2 separate regions of the Homo sapiens genome follow, and region 2 is linked to region 1. Evidence: promoter capture Hi-C in human tissues and cell types (Jung and others, 2019). All regions are on one chromosome and are shown on one strand. The core of a region is centred on a gene start or on the middle of the fragment in contact, and the rest is flanking DNA. Distances in the headings are between cores, read along the strand shown. Region 1 holds the start of TOM1L2 (target of myb1 like 2 membrane trafficking protein). Region 2 has its middle 13 kb from the start of SMCR2.

Region 1 (7,788 bases), core at 1-2,500:
AAAATAAAAAATAAATAAATAAATAAATAATGAACAAAATTTTTCTTAAAAAAGAATAAAATCAATCACTTACTGAATGCTTACTGTGTGCTCAGTGCACATGCATTATTTAAGTACATGTAAGCTCCGGAGGCCATAAAAAGGGAGTCCTAATGCCCTTATTTCCCAGCTAGGGAACCTGAGGCTCCAGGGAGGTAAAGGAACTTGTCCAAAGTCGTACAATGAGTTACTGACAGAGACGGATACAGAACTTGAGTAGCCGTATTCACATCCAAAGCGGTATATACAGTACCAAGATGAAATCATTTGATAGTTATGAGGTCAGTTATGATGGCTAAATTCTGGGAAAAGTTATCAGTGGACCGGGTACCTCTCTTTCTATGAAAGGAGGCTGGAAGACGGAACCCCTTAAAAATCCATTCTGGCCCTGCTCCCTCGGGAAATGCTTCCTTAGTATTTTTTTTTTTTTTTATTCAAAAGCTTGACAAGCCCAGGACTAAAGTGTCTTGGCTGTCTCACACGACTGTAAAGTGGCTGGGAGAGGACCTACGTGCTCATTTTATAAATGAGAAGGGCCGGGCCGGCGTTCTCCGAGAAAAAGGTCACAGGAAAGAGTTACGTCGGGCACTATCTGTCCCTGCAAGTCCTCCGGGAGCCTCAGCTCCCAGGTCTCACCTTCTCAAGCGCTGGGAACTCGGCGGTTCCACGCAGCAGACGCGTCTCCCGGTTGCTGGGGAACCAAGCGCCGCGACTTGGTTGCTAAGGGGAAGTCAGAAGGGAGACATCCTGGGTGAAAGTTGACAAGTCACGTGACCACATCTCCGTGTGGTGAAACACTCCTTACACCAACCAGCCGTAGAGAAAACAAATGTTTCTCCAATCAGTACTTTCTATGGGCGGGGATATTCCTAGATTCACCTCTGTTCCGTCCATTTGCGTGATTGACTCGTCTTTTGTCCAATAATAGTAAGAATCCTTTAGATTGACCAATATACAGAGGAATCAAAATGCGCAGCTTCCCCTTTGGGGGCGGGCCAGGGGAGGTGCCGCCACGGCTGACAGGGACTCCGGTGACCTAGCTCGCTCCTCCGCCCAATCGGACGCTGCGGGGTGGGTGGGGGCTTTGCTGACAGAGGTGTAACGACCAATAGGAGGCGGGCTTCGTAGGTGTCCCCCAATAGAGACGCGGCAAGGGGGCGGGGCCAAAGGCCCTAAGCTCGGCGTTCCAGAGAGTGGGGAGGGGGCAAGTGTCAGTCAGGACGGGAGTCCGGCGGGTTACAGCGGAGGCCTAGGTGGCAGACAGGGGGCCCGGGCCGCTGCGTGTTGTCCACCCAAGATGGAGTTCCTCCTGGGGAACCCGTTCAGCACACCAGTGGGGCAGTGCCTCGGTAAGGCCGCGTGTGGGGCAGGAGGCTGGGCAACGGCGGCCGCTGATCCGGCTGGTGAGGACCGCGGGCCTCCGCCGGGCGCCGGTGCCACTTCACGAGCGGGCTGGGCCTCCGCCAGCCGCGGGTGCCACTCCACGAGCGGGCTGGGCATCCTGGTCGTCGGGCCTTTGCCGGGCGCTTGTGCCACCTCACGGGCGGGCTGGGCATCCTGGTCGTCTGGCCTTCACTGGGCGTCGGTGCCACCTCACGGGCGGGTTGGGCATCCTGGTCGTCGGGCGTTCGCCGGGCGCCGGTGCCACCTCCCGGGGGGGCTGGGCCTTCGCCGGGTGCCGGTGCTATCCCACGGGCAGGCAGGGCATCTGTGTCCTCGGGCCTCCTCCCGGGCACTGGTGCCACCTCACGGGCGCGCCAGTGCCACTCTGCCAGGAGGCACCCCTGAGGCCCAACTTGGACTCGGAGATGCCCCAGGCTTCCCTGCCCATCAAGGCTCAGCCCTTCCTTTTGCTGCTAGAGGTGGTGCCAACTGCTGGTCTGCTTCCCCAATGCGCTTTGGGAGATGCCACTGCATGTGTCTTTATCCAGCCCAGCAGGCTCACTGCCACTGCCCCAAGGACCCAGTTCTCCCAAACCCTTTGTGGGATGTCACCTTCTTCTCCATCTTTGTCCCTCCTCTTCGGTACCAGCAACCCTCAGACTGGGCACCCTCCCAGAAATGCCCCCTGCTCCGGGACTTGCTAATTTGAGCTGCAACTCAGCTGTGCTGTAGGAGGGACTGGGATAGGAGGAGGGGCTCTTGGAGGGTGATTATCTTGGCAGGGGGATGGCATGCCTGCAGTGCCTCCCAGGAAAGAAGGGAGGCTGTGTTATTTAATGATAAGAGCCCTGGACTGGGAATCATGGAAGCCTGGACTCTAGCAGTGGTTTTGTCAGTGACTCCATATGACCTTGTGCCCTTTCTGGTTTGAAGTTCCCCTGTCTGTCAAAGTGTTTGGAGATGAGATGTGATAGATCCCTTAAAGTTCTCAAGTTTTGATATTCTTTGTAGTACTCTGCACATTGACTGTTGCTTCCTCCCCCACCTCATATTAAGTTTACCAAAGCTGAAATCTTTTGTTGGCAATGTAGAGAGAATGGTACTCAGCATTATCTGTTAATCCTATAGGGGGGATGTGGACACCTGGGGACACCAGAGATGGCCAGAATCATGGATAAGGAAAGCCCAAAGTGTAGGTAAAGGAATACTGAAATGGCCACCATATGGGACTTCCTTACTAAGAAAGCAACTTGCCTTTTTACCCAAGGCAGTGGCTTATGCCACTTGATCAGTCAAGAATGCTGATTAGTTTGTTTGAAAACTGGATTCCTCCTGGTTGGTTGAAGGACTGGTAAAACGTCTTTTATGAGCCAGGATCTTTGGTGTTCTTATGGGCCTGATTTCAGCAGTAGTGATTTGTTTATTTTCTGCTTTGCTTATGAAATTTTAGCTTACTTTCCAGCCTTTAGTGGAGCCTATAAACTTATTGAGGTCTCTCCTGTTGGCTAATTAGCATTTAGGAGCCTTTCTTTACTTTCTGGCGTAGTATCTTTTATAATGCATGAGGGACCCCAAAAGAGTGTTTTCCCACCTTTTTGACATCTTGTCTCTTGCTGCCCACTGGAGAGTCTCTGGATTCTCACTTCCTTACTTCTTCCCCATGTCCTTTTCCACTCTCTTCAGGTGCTCTTGCATGGCAGCCACACTCCAAAAACTAATTTCCAGCCAGTTAATGGAGGGAGCCAGAAAACTTGCGAGAATTGTTTTCCTTTCTGTCCCCTTTATAATAGGAAGCTCTACACCTTTAAAATGACAAGGTAGTAAATGAGGGGTAGAAGTTAAAGGGGATTTAAAATACAAATGTGGTTGGGTGCGGTGGCTCACGCCTGTAATCTCAGCACTTTGGGAGGTTGAGGCGGGCGGATCACAAGGTCAGGAGATCGAGACCATCTTGGCTAACACGGTGAAACCCCGTCTCTACTAAAAATCCAAAAAAAAAAAGAAAATTAGCCAGGCGTGGTGGCATGCGCCTGTAGTCCCAGCTACTCGGGAGGCTGAGGCAGGAGAATTGCTTGAACCCGGGAGGCGGAGTTTGCAGTGAGCTGAGATTGTGCCACTGCACTCCAGCCTGGGCGACAGAGTGAGACTCTGTCTCAAAAAACAAACAAACAACAACAACAACAACAAAAAACCAAATATAAGAGATATAGGGATATATAGCAAGTGGAAAGAGCTTGATACTTCTGTCAGGGAGACCTAAGTTGAATTTTGACCTGGCCCCCATTTCTTGGCTGTGTGACCCCAGAAAATTGTGTTGCTTTCTGAGGTTTAGTTTGTCAGTCTTCTGAGAGAGAGAGAGAGAGAGAGAAAGATTCCTATTCACAGAGTAATGTAGTTTAAATGAGATAATGTATGAAAACACTTAGCATAGTATCTGGAACATAGTAGAAGCTCAGTAAATTGAAACTGCCACTGTTAATAACAGAATATTTAAGTTAGGGTTGGATTTTCTATCTGGAGAGGATATGTGAAACAACTGGCCCGTCTGTGACCTGTGAAGGAAAATACCCTACCAGGCCCCAGGATTCACCATTGCTCATAAGATGCTTGACTAAAGATGATGATGGCTCCCCACTGCCAGGTAGCCAATAGGTCATTTCAGTTCAGTTCAGGTAAATGATTAATGGACAGAATTAGGTTCTAATGTATATTCCGTACTGTTGTGACAAAGTGTCAAAGTGACTTTCTTGATATTTAGTGTTGTTAGTATTCTTTTAAAAGAATGTGCGGGGGTGGGGGATTGGTGGGAGGGAGGGGGAATACAGAAATAAAATAACAACTACAAAGCTAATGATTAAAAACAGCAGCTGTAGGCTGGTTGTGGTGGCTCATGCCTGTAATCCCAGCACTTTGGGAGGCCAAGGTGGTGGATCACTTGAGGTCAGGAGTTGGAGGCCAGCCTGACCAATATGGTGAAACCCTGTCTCTACTAGTAATACAAAAATGAGCCGGGTGTGGTGGTGGGCGCCTGTAATCCCAGCTATTCAGGAGGCTGAGACAGGAGAATCGCTTGAACCTGGGAGGCAGAGGTTGCAGTGAGCCAAGATTGTGCCACCGCGCTCCAGCCTGGGCGACAGAGTGAGACTCTGTCTCCAAAAAAAAAAAAAAAAGGAGAGCTGGTCCCTCTCTGATCCCTGTCCTCAATGGATTTACGGTTTCAGGAGAGAAGACAGAGATGCATGAAACAATGAGTGGTGTAGATTGTAAGTGCTGAAGGAGTCAGAAACAATTCAGAAGAGGCTGGGGTGACAGGGACTGGCTTCTTTGAGTCTGAGGGCTGTTCATAAAGGATGGGTAGGAACTCTGCATGCAGAAAACAATATCATTGGGCCTAGGGACAGCTGAATGAGGCAGGGAGTGGGGCACAGGCACATCTGTGAGTACCAGTCTGAATGGAGCAGAGGTGGCTGTGGGGAGTGGTGGCAAGTAGGGTTTGGGCACAGGAGGAAGCCCTGCTCTGGATGGGTGGCATCAAAGACTACATTCTTTTTTTTTTTTTTTTTGAGATGGAGTCTCACTTCATCACCCAGGCTGGAGTGCAGTGGCACGATCTAAGCTCACTGCAACCTCCGCCCCACAAGTTCAAGCGATTCTCCTGTCTCAGCCTCCCAAGTAGCTGGGATTACTGGTGCCTGGCACCGTGCCGGGCTAATTTTTGTATTTTTAGTAGAGACAAGGTTTCACTACCTTGGCCAGGCTGGTCTTGAACTCCTGACCTCGTGATCCACCCTCCTTGGCCTCCCAAAGTGCTAGGATTATAGGAGTGAGCCATTGCGCCCGGCCCAAAGACTACGTTCTTTAACTGACTTCAACTTTTAGTCTCTTTGGACCTAATTTTCCCTGCTTATAAAATAATACTTCTCAACAGCTGCATGGGGCTTACACCTAAATAATTTTGTCTGTTCACTTCAGTAGGCAGTTATGAGTGCCTGTGGGGGGCCAGGCCTGTGCCAGGCTCTGGGGATACAAATATTAACAAGCTGCTCTTAGGGAGCCTTCGGTAGAGGTAACATGCTCACAAAAGGTGTCCTGGGTCTGTCTGAGCGGTTGGTGGAGTAATTCTTACTCTGTCTTATGCGTGGGCCTCATGTGAACATTCTAACCTGGTACGATTTAGTAGAACACTTAGCGTGTTCATCTCAAGTTAGCGGCTAAGACCACAGTCTGACATAGTTAACTGTGCATTTCTTGCATCCATCCCGCCCTTTATTCTGGAGGGCAGTTCCTGAGTAGAAAGCATGGTTTAGGGAGAGAGTAAGCTGGACAGGTGCGGTGGCTCACACCTGTAATCCAGCACTTTGGGAGGCCGTGGCGGGTGGATCACCTGAGGTTAGGAGTTCAAGACCAGCCTGGTTAATGTGGCAAAACCCCATCTCTACTAAAAATACAAAAATTAGCTGGGCATGGTGGCACGCGCGTATAATCCCAGCTACTCGGGAGGCTGAGGCGGAAGAATCCCTTGAACCTGGGAGGTGGAGGTTGCAGTGAGCCGAGATCGTGCCATTTGCACTCCAGCCTGAATGACAGAGCGAGACTGCATCTCCAAAAAAGAAAAAAAAGAGAGAGAAAGCCTAGCCATGGTGTGCGAGGCTAAGAAGTGTGGTGGAAGAAAGAGTACTTACTTGTATTTCTTAATTTTCTGTTCTGCAACAAGCTTCAAAATGTTAACTGTCTTAATCTCAGCCTTCCACAACTGCTTGGAGTTGGATGACATACATGGGGAGTTCCCCAAGTCAGGTCCATTGTGTCTGCAGCAGTTTGCAGTTTTCCTTGTGTTGGCTAGAAAAAGTTTTCAGAAAATCCTTTTCCAAGAGTAAAGTTTAGATTCAAAGATCAGTGAGTAGTTAGTTAATTCTGACCAGAATATTGGGGGTGGTGGGCATGTATTCTCTTCATTGTTCTGCTTTAATAAACAGGCAAGAAGCAGATATTCTGTTGCAGAGTTTGTTTGTAGACTGACTGGTGTTGGACATAAACTACTTCATAATATCCTGTGAATGGTAGACGTTTAACCTGGCTATTTGTACCAAGAATAGTTAGTTGTCCCTCAGATTGCTATGTGTATTAGGGTTCTCTAGAGGGACACAACTAATAGGGTAGATGTTTATATTAAGGGGAGTTTATTAAGGAGTACTGACTCACACAATCACAAGATGAGGTCCCACAGTAGGCCATCTGCAAGCTGAGAAGCAAGGAAGCCAGTCTGAGTCCCAAAGCTGAAGAACTTGGAGTCTGATGTTCAAGGGCAGGAATTTGCAAAGCCCTTTTGCTTCAGTCATTTTATTTAGTGTTCACAACCTTGTGAGATATACAGGAAGATAACTGGAAGGAACTTATAATTATTAAGTACCAACTATATGCAAACTCTGTACATAGAATCTCATTTAACCCTCACAACATTTAACTATTTGGGTGTTATCATCCCTGTATCACATAAGGAAATCGAGGCTCTGAGAAGTTAAGAGACTTGTGCAAGGTCAATGGCAGAGTGAAGCCTAGAATCTACTCCTGATCCAGTGCTCATTCTGTGCTGCCATTTATGTTACTTTTTGCACTCTGAGCTCATGATTCAGCCGCAAGGGAATCACCTGGAGGGCTTGTTAAAAGTGGATCCTACCCTCAGAGTTTCTGTTTCAGTAGGTTTGGGGTGGGAAGTAGCATTCTACATTTCTGTCAAGTTCTCTAGTGATGCTGATGCTACTGGTTCACTTCGAGAACTGTAGTTCTTGCTTTGAAGTTCTGTTTCTTTAATCTTTTCTTTATCTTTCTTCAAACATTAAATGTAGGTTTTCTTGTGGACAGGCTAAAAGAGTGATTATTTAGAATTTGTTCATTTATTTATTCAGTGGCCCTGTACTATCTGTATATAGCAAGCTGAGAATTTCCCAGTGTGTAGGTATCTAAATTAGATCAGATAGAAAGTAGTTGCAAGATTGGATAGATAAATGCAGTAAGGAAATGTAGGAGGGGAGGGGTGACCTCAGGTGGTAATAATAATAGCTAAAGGCTTTTGGGTTTTTTGTTTGTTTTTTTGTTTCTTTGTTTTCCAGATGGAGTCTTGCTCTGTTGCCCAGGGTGGAGTGCAGTGGCGCGATCTCAGCTCACTGCAACCTCCACCTCCTGGGTTTAAGGGATTCTCCTGTCTCAGCCTCCCAAGTAGCTGGGATTACAGGTGCCCACCATCATGCCCGGCTAATTTTTGTATTGTTAGTAGAGACAGGGTTTCACCATGTTGACCACGTTGGTCTCAAACTCCTGACCTCAGATGATCCACCCACCTTGGCCACCCAAAGTGCTGGGATTACA
Region 2 (7,788 bases), core at 1,877-4,376, 310 kb after region 1:
GGAGGCCTGTGGGGCTGAAGAGCAATGCATGGGGGCAGAGAGCAGGAGGCAAGGACAGAGAGGGTCAGGACCAGCTTGGGTGGCCACAGTGTACAGTGGGGCCTCTGGCTCAGACCCTGAGTGACGGGGTCCTTCAGGGAGAGCTGGGATCTCCCCTAGGTCCTCACAGTGCACCCTGGCTGCTGAGAGGGGCCAGGGCAGGAGCAGGAGGCCTGGGAATCCAGGGGGCCCTGGCCAGGGTGGGGCTGTGGGCAATGAAAAGATTCCAATTCCAAATATACCTTGAAGGTAGAATAGACAAGAATTTCTGACGTGGGGTGAGGAGAGGAGCCCAGGACACTCCAGAGTTTTCCACCTGAGCAAGAGCAGGGTGTGGCCTGAACAACAGATGGCGTGCCCAGGCCCTCTGTGGCATCTAACTGTTGTTAGAGGCCCAGGTGTAAGGAGGGAGGGGTGTGCATCTGTCCACACACGTGGGTGGGGTGTGTGCAACTCTGTGTGCAGCCCTAGAGGGCCAGGCTGGGGTCTCAGGGCTGCTGGTTGGAGCCTTACCCCATTCCTGATGGGGCCAGCTCCCAGCCACCGCTGGAGGCAAGAATGGCCCCTTCCTGGCTTGCTCCTGGGGGGCACTCAGCTCTTTCTGCTCTCCTGAGTCCCTAGAAATGAGGGTGCACTCAGCCATGCCACAACCCCTGCCCTTCTCCTTCCTGCTGCCCTCCAGGGCCTGTGGGATGGGGGCAGCAGACAAAAGGGAGAAAAAACCAAGGAGGGAGGGGCCATGGCAGGCCCCTGAGAGTCATCTGTGGGGTGAACACAGCCCTTTAGACATAACCCTCCCAAGACCCCCACCTGTTGCTGGGATGGACGTTGTTGGAGTCTGTTCTGGGGCCCCTGAGAGGAGGAACCTGCCCAATAGCAGAGACACTGACCCCCACGCTGAGGTCACCTCCCTCCAAAGCCAGAAAAAAATCCCATTGATCCACTCAGCTCTCAAAGTTCATCTACCCTCCTTCTCCATTTCCCCAAATCCTGGTCATTCTCCAAAACCAGCTCACCCTCTGGCTTCTGGGAACCTGGTGAGGCACCAAGAAGGTGGGTGCTTGAGTCAGCCAGAGGGCTCATGCTTCTGCCCTGCCACCTGTTGCTGTGTGACCTTGGGCAAGTCACATCACCTCTGAGCAGGCACTTCCTCCCCCTGTAACTTGGAGCTGCTAACAGCTTCTCTGTGGGGCCGTTCAGAGGTAAGCTGCACAGAGGACTTAGCTGTTGCTTCTGTGAGCCTTGGTTTCCTAATCTGTCAAGGGCTGTGGGAAGATGAAGTGAGACACTGTGGAGGCCCAGCTTGGAGGCCACGGTGTGCCTCCCCTGAATTCATACCTTCCTGCTCCCAGGACCTACCCATCCGTCTCTCTGTGCTCCTCACTCTACTTCTCTGAGAGCCCCACTGTTCTGGGGAGCTCTCACCAGCCATGGTCACAGGCTCTTGGGGCCTATGGTGTCAGCGCTGATGGGGTCTCAGGTCTGTCACTGTACCCGGCCCCACAGCCAGAGCTAAGTTTGGGAGCTGGCCACGGAGTGTCTGCGGCTCATGATGGTAGGCTGAAAAATGGCCCCTAAAGATATCCAGGTCCTCATCCCTGGAACGTGTGGGTGTCCCCTTTACAGCCAAAAAATGGGCTCCTGCAGATGTGCAAAGTTAAAGGTCTTGAGATAAGGAGATGATCCTGGGCTATCTAGGGGTTCCTTAAATGCTGTCCCTAGTGTCCACAACAGAGAGAGGCTGAGGGAGACTCGACAACACAAGCACGGAGGAGGAGACTGCGCGGCCACCGAGGCAGAGACCAGAGTGATGCAAACACAGCCAGGGATCACCAGGGCAGCTGGCTGAGGCTGCAAGGGGCCCTGCACAGGTTCTCCCCTGGCGCCTCCGAGGGGGCACAGCCCCACAGACGCCATGACTCGAGACCAGTGATACTGATTTTGGACACCCAGTCTCCAGAACTGCAAGAGAATCATTTCTGCTGTTCTAAGCCCCGACATGTGTAGTAACTCTTTACAGCAGCAACAGGGAACGAACACTCACAGCTTAGGATTTCCTGGCTACCGCCCAGACCTCGCCCTGCCTCATGTCCATCCAGAGCTGGGCGTGAGTGTGTAGGGTGTGCAGGTGGCCATTTACTCCTGTAGGCCAGCAGGGGCCCGGGGATCCTGGGCAGGTAGAGGGGATGGAGGATGGACAGGCTCTGGAAGCCCAGACCACGTGGATGTTCTGTGAACTGCTGGACCCTCAGCCCAGGCCCAGGAGCATGGGAGGAGTAAGCCACAGAGCATGTGTTGGCTGCTTGTGTCCACACACAGCTGGGGGGTGTGTTTGGTGCATGTCCACGTGGTGGGTTGTGCGGGTATAGAGGTGGGGAGTAGGCACTTGTGCACCTGGTATAGACCCAGTGGAAAACCCAGGTGTGCCAGAAACAGCCAGCTTCCTTTTTTCTTTTTCTTTTTTTTTTTTTTTGAGATGGATCTCACTCTGTCACCCAGGCTGGAGTTCAGTGGTGTGATCTCGGCTCACTACAACCTCCACTTCCCGGGTTCAAGCGATTCCCCTGCCTCAGCCTCCCAAGTAGCTAGGATTACAGGCGCCGGCTGCCACGCCCGGCTAATTATTTTGTATTTTTAGTAGAGATGGGGTTTCAGCATGTTGGCCAAGCTGGTTTCGAACTCCTGACCTCAAGTGATCCACCCTCCTCGGCCTCCCAAAATTCTGGGATTACAGGCATGAGCCACCACGCCCAGCCCCTTTTTTTCTTTAAATCATCTTACATCCTGTTCTAAGCCCCTATCCTGCTGGCTGGTGGGCAACTGAATCTCAGCCATTATTGGGAGCTTCTTTCTTCTCCAGAGCCACACAAAGGTCCCAAGGCCATGATGAGTCTGGCCACCGGGTCTGGCAAAGGAGGCCAGCAAAGCTCTCTGAGACAAGCTAGGGACCAGGCTGCCTGCACTGGAGCATGGGGTGGGGTTAGTAAAACAGAACAAAACCAAAATTAATATCTGCTGTTTGTCTAGAACCCTGGAGCTTTGCTGCTCAATATGGTTGTCATTAGCCACGTGTAGCTAGGTACATTTCAATCAATTTAAAAGAAATAAAACTTAAAATTGTGTGTGTGTGTGTGTGTGTTTCTTTTAGAGTCTCACTCTATCACCCAAGCTGGAGTACAAATGGTGCGGTCTCAGCTCACTGCAACCTCCACCTCCCGGGTTCAAGCGATTCTTCCGCTTCAGCCTCCCTAGTAGCTGGAACTATAGGCACATGCCACCACACCCGGGTAATTTTTGTATTTTTGGTAGAGACAGGGTTTCACTCTGTTGGCCAGGCTGGTCTTGAACTCCTGACCTTGTGATCCGCCTACCTTGGCCTCCCAAAGTGCTGGGATTACAGGCATGAGCCACCGCGCCCGGCCTTTAAAATTGTTATTATTATACTAGTCACTTTCTGGTGTTCAGGAGCGGTGTGTGGCCACCCTGTGGGACCTGGTATAGGAAGTTCTATTGGGCTGTACTGCCAGAAGCGTTCAACCACTGACATGAGTTCTGCCCCTCTGAGTGGGGTGACCTGCCCATTTACAGATGGGGATGCAAGGATCAAGCACAAAATGACTTACCCAAGGTCACTGGCAGCAGTTGGCACCTCCAAGCTCCATGGGCAGTGGCACCCCGGGCCACGGGGTAGAGTGGGTGCTTGCCAATGTTGGCTGCTGAGTGAACGTGCCAGTGCCGTCCTCTGCCTCCTTGGAGGAAAGCTGCCTGTGAAGAACAGTCCTGCCCTCGTTCAGAGGTACGGCCTCCTGATCTCAGCCTGGTAAGGCACTGTGTGGCTCTAGCCCTACCTCAGGTACCACACTTTGCCTCTTTGGGACCCTGTGTCCCCGTCCATGAGATGGAGATTGTGACCACTGCATAGGGCTGCCTGGGATTTCCATGAGTTAATGTCTGTGAAGTGCATAGTACAATCTAACTCAATCATACGACGTTTGAGAGATGATGGGATTTGGCACACAGGAATGAGCACTGCGCCTCCTCAGAGTGACTCCCAGAGGTCAAGTTGGGATTTACTTAGACTGAGACCCGCAACCTTATCATGCTTCTAGCATTCATCTGACAAACATCTATTAAGCTTGCTTTTGGGGGCCACGACCGATGTAAGCCTGCAGCTGTGAGGTCTACCCTAGGCTAGGGAAGGTTATTCTGAGAAGAAAGTGAACCCCAAGGAAGGGGAAATCCAGAAGAAGATTCCTGATGACATCTGACAGCTGGATCCAGCTGTTCCTGAAGCTTTTATATTCCTGTTTTGTTTGCCAATAATTTTTTTTGTCATTTACAACTCAAAGCCAGGCCGTCTGGTCCAACCCCTTGTCCCCTGATACTTGATGCTTCTCCATAGCAGCTATGACAGTCTCTGCTTGGATGCTGCTCATGATGGGGATCTCACTACCTACCAAGGGAGCTCTACAAGGGCAGAACCAACTCTGGTGCAAGTGAGAGCTGATAATCTATTGCTCTTGTCTGGAAATGGTGTGCACAGCTGGGAGCTCCCCTGGATTGGATTCAGGGCAGTGGAAAGAGGACCCTTCATGGTTCAGTAGACCTGAATTCAAATTTCAGGCCTGGTGGTGACTCACTGTGTGACCTGAGTGAGGCAAGGGACTTCCCCTACCTGAACCTCAGTTTCAACATCTGTAAAATGGTCTCCCTGGCCACACTGATTTGGTGAGGACACCACGAGGATTAAGCAAGAAAATGTGTGTGAAGCTCTGGGCGCACGCCAGTGTGTGGCACACAGGGGACACCTGAGGGCCACATCCCTCCTGTGGGTAATGCTAATGGACACTGCACACCCATCTGAGAGGGTCCACTCTGCGTCCATAAGAGGTTGGCACTGGGGAGTCCGCACTGGGCCAGGCTGCTCCTGCTCTGCGGAGCGTCTGCTGCAGCTGTGACTCACAGCCCGACCACACTCACAGCCCAAGACTCGGAGCCGTCTGTTGTTATGGCGACGCAAGCCCACTGGAGTCCTGGGCTGTCAGTCATCAAGGTCTGACGCTGGGGGTGTGTTTTGGCGTGTGGGTGTGGCCTGTGTGTTTGTGTAGGGGGATGGGCGTGTGAATGCTATTCCTGCGTGTTCAAGGCAGTGTGCTGGTGTTTGTGTGTGGACTTCCTGTGTGTGCAAGGCTGGGCATGTCTGCATTGAGGGCGTTTGTCTGTGTGTGGTGTTGAGCTGTGTGTGCGGTCTGGGTGTCTGTGGGCTGTGTGTGTGTGTAATGTGCCTTAGGAACGCTGGCCCTGAGGCAGGGTGGACAGGAGGGTGGCCCAGGGAGGGGTGTAGGCCTGGGTGTCTATCGCTCTGACCTGGTGGCCCTGGGTTGGTCACTGCACCTTTCTCAGCCTGTTTCCCCCTCAATAAGCACAGCAGGTTGCAAAGGGCACTCACACTCGCTATTTCATTTAATCCTCCTGTGATCCTGTACCAGCAGCTGCTCACTCAACTCATATTTAGAGTCCACTCTGTGTCAGGCCCTGGGGATACAGCCATGAACAGAGACTTCCTCCGCTGAGGGTCTCCAGTCTCCAGTCTGGTGGGAGATGGACAATACACAAACAAGCAAACAAAACCAGAGACTCCAGTGGGTGCTGGGAGAAGGAACAGCAGGAGGAGGGCACAGAGAGTGATGGGGTGGAAACTGAGGACAGGGTGGTCAGAGAGGTGACTTATGAGCAGAGGTTCTGAGGAAGGAGGCCAGAGTCATGGGAAGAGCATCGCAAGCATCGCAACAGTAAGTGCAGAGGCCCTGAGGCAGGTGGAGGTTCATGTATCTGTGGCCCAACGAGCAGGCCGCGCACTGCAGCGGTGTGGGTGGGATGGGCAAGGCCACTGCCATTTGCAGTTTGTGGATTCCAAGGCAAGTGCACTGGTGAAAACAGCCCATTGTTCATCCACTGATGAATGGAGAGGCAACATGCGGTATGTCCAGACAAGGAAATAGTATTTGTCAATAAAAAGGAACAAATGGCCAGGCGCGGTGGCTCATGCCTGTAATCCCAGCACTTTGGGAGGCCAAGGCGGGCAGATCACTGAGATCAGGAGTTTGAGACCAGCCTGACCAACATGGAGAAACCCTGTCTCTACTAAAAATACAAAATTAGCCAGGCTTGGTGGTGCATGCCTGTAATCCCAGCTGCTTGGGAGGTTGAGGCAGGAGAATCGCTTAAACGCAGGAAGCGGAGGTTGCAGTGAGCTGAGATCGTGCCATTGCACTCCAGCCTGGGCCACAAGAGTGAAACTCCGTCTCAAAAAAAAGGAACAAGCTACTGGTACGTACAAAAATATCAGTGAATCTTAAGTGGATTATGCTGAGCAAAAGTAGCCAGCCTTGAAAGGCTGTAGGCTGCAGGATTCTATTATGTGACATTCCGGGAGTGACAAAATGATAGGGACAGAAAACTAATCAGCGGTTGCCAGGAACTGGGGATGGGGAAAAGGCTGACCTGACCACAAGGGGGCTTGAGGCAGTTATGTGATTTGACACATTTGTCAAAATCCATAGAATTGTATGCTAAAAATTGATGAGTTTAATTGTATGTAAATTATACGTAAATATACCTGGCCACACACCAACACCCAACATCTCACAAAGCTTGGGGCTGAGTGACCCTCCCACCTCCCGGAGAGCTCGTGAGAGCAGCTCTGGGAAACACACTTTTCTTCAGGTCCTGTCATTTCATTTTCAACTGCCTTGTCCTTAATCTGTCTTTGCCGTGAATATAGTAGTTTATTTTCTTTTTTGTTTATGTTTTTGTTTTTGTTTTGTTTTGAGATGGAGTTTTGCTCTTGTAGCCCAGGCTGGAGTGCAATGGCGCGATCTCAGCTCACTGCAACCTCCGCCTCCTGGGTTCAAATGATTCTCCTGCCTCAGCCTCCTGAGTAGCTGGGATTATAGGCGCATGCCACCACGCCCAGCAAATGTTTGTATTTTTAGTAGAGATAGGGTTTCACCATGTTGGCCAGGCTGGTCTTGAACTCCAGACCTCAGATGATCCACTTGCCTCGGCCTTCCAAAGTGCTGGGATTACAGGCATGAGCCACTGTGCCCAGCTGGTAATTTCTCAGTAAATATTTGATCAACCGATCTGGAAATGCTTCGCATCCAAAACTGAGGGCCCTTGTTCTCAGCTGCTGAGGAAAGACCAGGCAAAAGCGTCAGGGGCTTGACCAGGAGGGGTGTGTGCGTATGCTCGTGTGTGTGTGTGTGTGTGTGTGTGTGCACGTGCGCATGTGTGTGAGGCAGGGCTCAGTGCACACCATGCTGAGTGTTTTTAGCAGAATGTGGTGGTCCATGGAGGGCATGAGCACCCCAGTTCTCCTTCCTGGCACCAGCCAAGGTGAAGTGCGCTTCTTCACGCGCTTCAAGGTCAAGGCTGTCTGTAACTTGCTTTGGCCAATGAAATGTGAGCAGAAATGAGGATGTCACTTCCCGGAAGCAGCTTCCGGAGTTGGTGTGCAATTCTTCACTTTCCTTTCCCTGAGCTGGTGAGACCCCATCAAAACAGAATCTCAGTCAGCCTGGACCCAGACTGGCTGCACCATGTAGTGTCTTCCTGCTCCCTGGTCAGACGTAGCATGAGCAAGAAATCAACTTTTGCTCTTTATGTATGTATGTATTTTTTTTAATAGACTTTCTTTCTTGTTGGAGCAGTTTTAGATTCACAGCCAAACTGAGTGGAAGTTGCAGA

What was found. The method cuts DNA at HindIII sites, captures the fragments that hold promoters and counts their contacts. A contact is called where the count stands out against the background at its distance.
Region 2: a contact is called between a fragment that was not itself captured here and the fragment with the promoter of TOM1L2 in region 1, in 2 of the 25 tissues and cell types used here (H1 embryonic stem cells and liver).

What each region holds. Positions count from the first base shown.
Region 1 is chr17:17,965,862-17,973,649 of GRCh38, reverse strand. TOM1L2 (target of myb1 like 2 membrane trafficking protein) reads left to right here and starts at 1,250. Exons shown (of 15, transcript NM_001082968.2): 1 at 1,250-1,388. The coding sequence starts at 1,337. DRC3 (dynein regulatory complex subunit 3) reads right to left here and starts at 788. Exons shown (of 14, transcript NM_031294.4): 1 at 676-788. RefSeq lists enhancers at 497-816, 1,188-1,757 and a silencer at 1,497-1,546. The HindIII fragment of the contact is 12,285 bases long and covers 1-7,788 here.
Region 2 is chr17:17,660,770-17,668,557 of GRCh38, reverse strand. No RefSeq gene overlaps it. Among named protein-coding and RNA genes, the nearest start is that of SMCR2, 13 kb to the left of the region's middle. RefSeq lists enhancers at 82-581, 582-1,083, 4,736-4,875, 5,366-5,455. The HindIII fragment of the contact is 4,773 bases long and covers 740-5,512 here.